Regions from separate parts of the Homo sapiens genome. Here regions 1 and 2 are each linked to region 3. Evidence: promoter capture Hi-C in 16 types of primary human blood cells and fetal thymus (Javierre and others, 2016). All regions are on one chromosome and are shown on one strand. The core of a region is centred on a gene start or on the middle of the fragment in contact, and the rest is flanking DNA. Distances in the headings are between cores, read along the strand shown.

Evidence for each region. The method cuts DNA at HindIII sites, captures the fragments that hold promoters and counts their contacts. A CHiCAGO score of 5 or more calls a contact.
Region 1: a contact is called between a fragment that was not itself captured here and the fragment with the promoter of EP300 in region 3, in 4 of 17 cell types (endothelial precursors, M2 macrophages, erythroblasts and 1 more). The highest score is 6.1, in endothelial precursors.
Region 2: a fragment that was not itself captured here is called in contact with the fragment with the promoter of EP300 in region 3 in 16 of 17 cell types (megakaryocytes, M2 macrophages, naive B cells and 13 more); the score reaches 15.4 in megakaryocytes.

Annotation. Positions count from the first base shown.
Region 1 is chr22:40,868,481-40,871,180 of GRCh38, forward strand. XPNPEP3 (X-prolyl aminopeptidase 3) reads left to right here. Exons shown (of 10, transcript NM_022098.4): 2 at 519-635. Among named protein-coding and RNA genes, the nearest start is that of DNAJB7, 7.7 kb to the left of the region's middle. The HindIII fragment of the contact is 820 bases long and covers 843-1,662 here.
Region 2 is chr22:40,914,654-40,917,353 of GRCh38, forward strand. The region is part of intron 7 of XPNPEP3 (X-prolyl aminopeptidase 3); the gene reads left to right. It overlaps LOC124905157 (small nucleolar RNA U13), which reads left to right and starts at 226; the gene lies at 226-329. The HindIII fragment of the contact is 2,530 bases long and covers 143-2,672 here.
Region 3 is chr22:41,091,174-41,093,873 of GRCh38, forward strand. EP300 (EP300 lysine acetyltransferase) reads left to right here and starts at 1,419. Exons shown (of 31, transcript NM_001429.4): 1 at 1,419-1,925. The coding sequence starts at 1,832. MIR1281 (microRNA 1281) reads left to right here and starts at 1,340; the gene lies at 1,340-1,393. RefSeq lists silencers at 320-609, 710-1,479, 1,660-1,759 and an enhancer at 1,870-2,109. The HindIII fragment of the contact is 3,482 bases long and covers 1-2,700 here.

The sequences.
Region 1 (2,700 bases), core at 3-2,502, 220 kb before region 3:
AATGTCTCTGAGGGTAAAGATCTCATTTCTGTTTTCCTAAGGCCCAACACAGAGTCTGACACAGAGCAAAGGCCATATAAATATTGAAGGAGGGCCAGGTGCAGTGGCTCATGCCTGTAATCCCAACACTTTGGGAGGCCGAGGTGGGCGGATCACTTGAGGTCAAGAGTTCGAGACCAGCCTGGCCAACAGGATTAAACCCCGTCTCTACAAAAATTAGCCAGACATGGTGGCACGCACCTGTAATCCCAGCTATGTAGGAGGCTTGAGGCAGGAGAATCACTTGAACCCAGGAGGTGGAGGTTGCAGTGAGCCGAGATCATGCCACTGACTCCAGCCTGGGTGACAGAGTGAGACTCTGTCTTAAAAAAAAAATAAATGAATATTGAAGGAGAGAAGGAAGGAAATATTAGTTTGCATTTTTCTAAAGCATCTAAACTGCTAGAGATAAGTGTATTTATACCATGAAGACTTTCTAGATCTATTGTTTCATTTCATTCTCTTTATTCTTCATTCAGGATGTATGTTGTGTTCACAGCGAAGGTACTCCCTTCAGCCTGTCCCAGAAAGGAGGATTCCAAACCGATACTTAGGCCAGCCCAGCCCCTTTACACACCCACACCTCCTCAGACCAGGTAAGGCCTTTTAACTGTGCTATCTCCCCATTTAGGTTCTGTCTAGAGCAATGCTATGCAATAGAACTTCTTGCAGTAAGCTCTGGATCTGTGCTGTTCCATAAGGTAGCCACTAACCTCACATGGCCATTTTACACTAATAAGGTTGCTAGTACAGCTGAGGAGCTGAACTTTTTATTTTATTTAATTTTAATTAATTTAAATTTAAGCTTAACTACATGTGGGTACTGGTGCTTTATTGACAATACTAGTCTAGAACAAGGTTTAAATATGATAGACCTTATAATTCAGAATAATTAATGAAAGGTATGTATTTCAGGATGTTTTTAAAGCAAAGTTCTATTTCTAAGTCAGCTTTTAGAATTGTATACTATTGTGAATTACTGTGTTAAAGACATTTTAGAAAACATGTTTTTTCTTGAAATTATCAAATATTTACTTTAAAATTATAACCTATTTCTATATAGATTAAGCAAGATTTCCAGATTTGTTTGTCACAGATTTGAGAGGTAGTATCCCAGTTGATAAAGGTGATGCAAAAAAATGATAAAGGTTTGTTTTACTAATTTTTTTTTCTGCTATAAGATCCCAGCGTTGCTGCCAGAAGATGTCTTATAACTATTGCTCAAATTTAGACCTAAAGGTTTTTTGTTTTGATTTCTTGCACTTAAGGGGTGAACTATGACTAATGAATATCTCAGAGAGGAAGGTAGGGTAAAAGCAAACACATTGTAGAAAAAGCAATCAGGTTTTCAAGGAAAATTAATTGTTCTTTCTGCCATAAGAAATTAAATATGTATTTGCCATATAAGCATATATATTACTAATGGAAATTTACCTTTAGAAATATGTTCCTTTTTCACTATCCCCACTCAGTGAATGATACCAGTATGTTTCTCAGTGAGGGCTTCCTTTTGCTGATTTTTCATCAGACTCGAATTCCTGCTGGGAAGTCGGCTGAAACTAAGGAAATGCAGCTCACCACTGAAACCCACAAGAAATCAGAGTTTTTCAAAGCTGTAAGGTAAGCTTAATAGCAACCCAGTTGGTATTAATTTTAGTATTTATCTACCCTATCAACCTACCTGTAGACTCGAGTTATTTTTTTAAGTAGAATTGATAGTTTTACCAGCTTTGAAAATTACTGATTTCTTGTGGTGAGATATTTTTACATGGTAAGCTGCATTTTCCAGGCCTTAAACCTAGTAATTATATTGTCAAGATAATGGCCTCTGTATCTAGATTTTTTTGCTCTATACCTTAAGTGCATGTTAAGTATAAGTGAATGTAAATAAATATGTACACGTATATGTTCACATACATATGTATGTGAATATCTGGGGGAAAAGGGATGCCTGTCCTAATTTTACTCTCCTAGACGTGGGATTTTGGACATTGGGGTAAGTGAGAAGGGATGGAAGTAGATGGAATTTTAAAACAGAATTATTAGTATTTTAAACCTCAAACTATCAGATGTACCATTAGGTACAGATTTTTCTGCAGACAAAAGTATCAAAAGAATTAATCATTTGTGTTTCTCCTTCCAGAGATGCAAAACTTGTGGAAGTGTTAAAGTGATTGTAGGGTGAAGCAGAGTAAATTTTTAAGAAAAATTAAAAGGGGCCGGGCGCAGTGGCTCATACATGTAATCCCAGAACTTTGGGAGGCCAAGGTGGGTGGATCACCTGAGGCCAGGAGTTTGAGACCAGCCTAACCAATATGGTGAAATCCTGTCTCTACTAAAAATACCCCCCAAAAAAAAAATTAGCCGGGTGTGGTGGCATATGCCTATAATCTCAGCTACTGGGGAGGCTGAGGCAGGAGAATCACCTGAATCTGGGAGGCGGAGGTTGCAGTGAGCCAGAATTGTGCCACTGCACTCCAGCTTGGGGGACAGAGGGAGACTCTGTCTCAAAAAAAAAGGAAAAAAAATTTAAAGGCATGTAATACTTAAAAAGTCTCTTAGGCCAGGTACAGTGGCTCACGCCTATAATCCCAACACTTTGGAAAGACAAGATGAGAGGATCACTTGAGGTTAGGAGTTCGAGACGAGCATAGGCAACAT
Region 2 (2,700 bases), core at 158-2,657, 180 kb before region 3:
TCCTGAAGTGATCCTCTCTTCTCAGACCTCTTAAGTAGCTGGGACTATAGGCACATTGCCACCATGCCTGACTCACAGACATTTTTTAAAAAATAAAGTTGATTTTTTAAAATACAGAAGTAATATTCAGGTTATGGTAGAAAGCTTGATTGGATTAATCCTCCATAGATAATAATTATAAAATCTGGACAAAATATTAAAAATAACTATTTAAAGGCACTAGAGATCCCTTTGTAGCTCATGAGTGTGATGATTGGGTGTTCACGTGCAGGTATGAGATGTGCTACCCTCAAACCTTCTTACAAGGTCAGCACATTACCCATCTGACATGAAAAAAATCAAAATAAAAGGCACCAGAGAGCTTTCAAAAATAGGCAGAAATTGTACAAGTCCATTCTTTTTTTTTTTTTTTTTTTGAGACGGAGTCTCGCTCTGGCACCCAGGCTGGAGTGCAGTGGCATGATCTCGGCTCACTGCTAGCTCCACCTCCCAGGTTCACATCATTCTCCTGCTTCAGCCTCCCGAGTAGCGGGACTACAGGCACCCACCACCACGCCTGGCTAATTTTTTGTATTTTTCGTAGAGATGGGATTTCACCGTGTTAGCCAAGTACAAGTCCATTCTTAAAAAACTATAATGGGCCAGGCCTGGTGGCTCATACCTGTAATCCCAGGACTTTGGGAGCCCAAGGCAGGCAGAGCACCTGAGGTCAGGAGTTCAGGACCAGCCTGACCAAAATGGTGAAACCCTGTCTCTACTAAAAATACAAAAATTAGCCTGGGAATGGTACTCGGGAGGCTAAGGCAGGAGAATCGCTTGAACCCAGGGGACGGAAGTTGCAGTGAGCTAAGATTGGACTCTGCACTCCAGCCTGGGTGACAGAGTGAGACTCTATCTGAAAAAAAAAAAAAAGAAAAACTATAATGGATAAAAATGGTGATAAGGGCTTTTTGCCTGAGGACATTGCCCAATGCACATAGCTTGGGCGGCAGAAAGCCACAGCCTTATTGATTTAAGATATCAAATGATAGATTTAGGTGCTGACAGAATAGCCAGAAAGATGAAGGAAAATCCTTGACGAGAAGGGCTTGTGGAAACTCTGAGCCCCAAAATCTGCATACAGAATATTTAAAAATCCTTGGCTGATTACTGAACTATGTGTTCTGAGGAGGCCTCATGAGGCTCAGCAAAATACGAGCAGCTAGAAGCAGAATAAACTGAGCAGAGATTTTAGTTGCTTCCCAGTGAGAACAGAGTTTGTAGTTTGAAGCTATCCAAGTTAACAAAATTTCTAGACATGAGAAGAAACTGGTAATTGTGACCTGTAATCAAGAAAATCTGATAATGAAATAATCCTGGCCAGGTGCAGTGGCTCATGCCTGTAATTCTAGCACTTTGGGGGGCCGAGGTGGGCAGATTACTTGAAGTCAGGAGTTCAAGACCAGCCTGGCCAAAATGTGAAACCCTGTCTCTACTAAAAATACAAAAATTAGCTGAGTGTGGTGGCGGGCACCTGTAATCCCAGCTACTCGGGAGGCTGAGGCAGGAATATCGCTTGAACCGGGAAAGGGGAGGTTGCAGTGAGCCGAGATTGTACCACTGCACTCCAGCTTGGGCGACAGAGTGAGACTCCATCTCAAACAAAGGAAAAAAAAAAAGAAAGAAATGATCCTAATGTTCCAATTAGCAGAAAGACTCTAAAGTAGCTGTTATAGATAAGTTAAAGGAAGATGTAGACATAATGAGCAAACAGATGGAGAATCTCAATGAGAAATAGAAACAAAAAAGAACCAGAGATTGTGGGAAGATGGCAGCAGCAGGATAGTTTTTCAAACTTTCCAAATTGTCAAATAAACATAGAGCAACTAGCTAACAAAACCAAACACTAGGTAGTATTTGTTACCTCAAAATAATTACCTCCTAATTCACAAACATTCAGTCTGTAACTGCCCAAAATCTAGACTGATAAACTCTGTATGTCAAGCAGCCTGGATTCTTTAACAAATAAATTACAAGGAAATGAAAAGAGGTGGAGGAGGAGCCTACTAACTAAAAGAGATTTTAGTTATATCAAATATATTACAAATGAACACAAAGAAAATTATCTTGGGGTGAATATTTGGGTGATAAAAATATCTTTAAAACACAAAGGACAGCCAGGCGAGGTGCCTCATGTAATCCCAGCACACTGGGAGGAAAGACAGGAGGATCACTTGAGCTCAGGAGTTCAAGACCAACATGGGCAGCATAGTGAAACCTGGTCTTTACAAAAAAATTAGCCAGGCGTGGTGGCACATGCCTGTAGTCCCAGCTACTCAAGAGGCTGAGGTGGGAGAATTGCTTGAGCCCAGGAGACAGAGGTTGCAGTGAGCCAAGATTGCACCATTGCAATCCAGCCTGGGTGACAGAGCCAGACCCTGTCGCAAAAAAAAAGAAAAAGAAAAAAACCCCACAATGACCAAGCATAGTGGCATGCACCTATAGTCTCAGCTACTCAGGAGGCTGAGGCAGGAGGATCACTTGAGTCCAAGAGTTCTAAGCTGCAGTCCACTATGTTGATCAGGTGTCTGCAACCAGTTAGAGGTTTTTGCACATTACCTAAGGAGGGCTGAACTGGCCCAGGTCAGAAACAGAGCAGGTCACAACTCTCATACTGATCAGTAATGGGAACAAGCTTGTGAATAGCCAGTACACACCAGC
Region 3 (2,700 bases), core at 169-2,668:
TTTGGGAGGGCAATGGAGAAGTGAGGACGCACTGGGTATCTGGCCCGGAACAGCCGGCAGTGGGTACACCCTGCCTGGTGAATTCGACCGGGGTTTTGGGGGACCCGCCACCCAAGGGCCGAAGAGCAGGGCCGCCCTACGGGCGCTCCCATTTGGCCACCTGAGTGGCGACTTGGCGCCTTCCTCGGAGCAGCTCCGGGGTTCCGTCGTCCCGGTTCCCACTGGTCCCTTACGCAGAGACCAAAGGCAGGAACCTTCCCTCGTAACTATCCACCGACTGAAAATAGATTCTGAGTCCGCCCCCGCCCCTCCCCCCTTAAAATCCTCCCCACTCTTAAAATCCTCCCCTTTAAAGGGAGCCACAGGGTGACGCCGGGGGAGTTTGCGGAAGCGCTAACCGCGTTGGGGCCTAGGGCGGATCCCGTGATTGGGACAGGCCCCGCCCCCGGCTCCACTTCCCCCATTGTGTGAGCGGCTCGGGCCTAGGCCCCGCCCCCCTCCGGAGGCCCGGCCACTCCCCTTTTCCACCCCCCCTTGGCTCATTTCCGGCCGCCGCCGCTACCGCTAGCCTGTAAGGAGGATTCGGCAGAGGGAAGAAACAACAGCCGCCATCTTGTTTGTGTGCTAGGCTGGGGGGGAGAGAGGGCGAGAGAGAGCGGGCGAGAGTGGGCAAGCAGGACGCCGGGCTGAGTGCTAACTGCGGGAGCCAGAGAGTGCGGAGGGGAGTCGGGTCGGAGAGAGGCGGCAGGGGCCGAGACAGTGGCAGGGGGCCCGGGGCGCACGGGCTGAGGCGACCCCCAGCCCCCTCCCGTCCGCACACACCCCCACCGCGGTCCAGCAGCCGGGCCGGCGTCGACGCCTAGGGGGGACCATTACATAACCCCGCGCCCCGCGGCGTCTTCTCCCGCCGCCGCGGGCGGCCCCGAACGGAGCCCCGGGGGGCGGGCGCTCCCAGCACCTGGCCGCCGGCGGTGGGGGCCGTAGCAGCGGCCGTATTTATTTATTTTCCGCGGGAAAGGAAGGCGAAGGAGGGGAGCGCGGCGCGAGGAGGGGCCGCCTGCGCCGCCGCCGGAGCGGGGCCTCCTCGGTGGGCTCCGCGTCGGCGCGGGCGTGCGGGCGGCGCTGCTCGGCCCGGCCCCCTCGGCCCTCTGGTCCGGCCAGCTCCGCTCCCGGCGTCCTTGCCGCGCCTCCGCCGGCCGCCGCGCGATGTGAGGCGGCGGCGCCAGCCTGGCTCTCGGCTCGGGCGAGTTCTCTGCGGCCATTAGGGGCCGGTGCGGCGGCGGCGGCGCGGAGCGCGGCGGCAGGAGGAGGGTTCGGAGGGTGGGGGCGCAGGCCCGGGAGGGGGCACCGGGAGGAGGTGAGTGTCTCTTGTCGCCTCCTCCTCTCCCCCCTTTTCGCCCCCGCCTCCTTGTGGCGATGAGAAGGAGGAGGACAGCGCCGAGGAGGAAGAGGTTGATGGCGGCGGCGGAGCTCCGAGAGACCTCGGCTGGGCAGGGGCCGGCCGTGGCGGGCCGGGGACTGCGCCTCTAGAGCCGCGAGTTCTCGGGAATTCGCCGCAGCGGACGCGCTCGGCGAATTTGTGCTCTTGTGCCCTCCTCCGGGCTTGGGCCCAGGCCCGGCCCCTCGCACTTGCCCTTACCTTTTCTATCGAGTCCGCATCCCTCTCCAGCCACTGCGACCCGGCGAAGAGAAAAAGGAACTTCCCCCACCCCCTCGGGTGCCGTCGGAGCCCCCCAGCCCACCCCTGGGTGCGGCGCGGGGACCCCGGGCCGAAGAAGAGATTTCCTGAGGATTCTGGTTTTCCTCGCTTGTATCTCCGAAAGAATTAAAAATGGCCGAGAATGTGGTGGAACCGGGGCCGCCTTCAGCCAAGCGGCCTAAACTCTCATCTCCGGCCCTCTCGGCGTCCGCCAGCGATGGCACAGGTTAGTTTCGGCAGCCCCGGCCTTCCACGTTCCCTTTAATCTTTTCTACTCGGTGCGCCTTTATTCTTCCATTTTTTTTTTCTTCCTCTCTCTCTAGTTCCCTGCCCCTTAATTAATTTTAAAGGTATTTGAATGAGCTGGTCGAAGACGTCCAGTAGCCCAACCATTTTCTTTGCCTCCTAATACATTGATTGCAACACTATGTCATATCGGTGTGTGTTCTGGAATTAGAGCTCGTAAGTGGGTGCTATATAGAAATGGCCTGTATTGTTGCTCTCATGCAATTTAATTTGGGAAATGCCAATGCATTTGTGTGTAAGAGCTCCTATGCAATTTAAGTTTCATTTTTTTTGTTCTTGGCAAATGAATTTCGAATCCTTTCTCTTTACTGTACTTACTGTGTTTCCTCTACTTTCCACTCTTCGAAATTTTCTCTCCTTTGCAGAATATTTTCTGTTGAGGAATAGGGTGTAAAAAAATCTTGATTTTGTGTGTGCGAGGTCCAAGATTTCAGGTTAGAGGTGAAGTTTAACAATTCTTTTATCTTACCTACCATTCTTAGCTTTTTTTTCCTTTTTCTTCTTATTTGCTTTAAGAATCAATATGGAGCGCAGTTCATTTCACATCTCCCAGTTCTTTGGTGTGAGACCAAAATGTCTGAAACTCTGGGTTTTTAGGTTGGGAGAACAGGGGCATGTTCTTTGCAGTTTGCAGTCACTTTCTCATTTTAGGGGAAATAAGATAAACAATTTTGTGGAGTTACGTACCTGGAAAT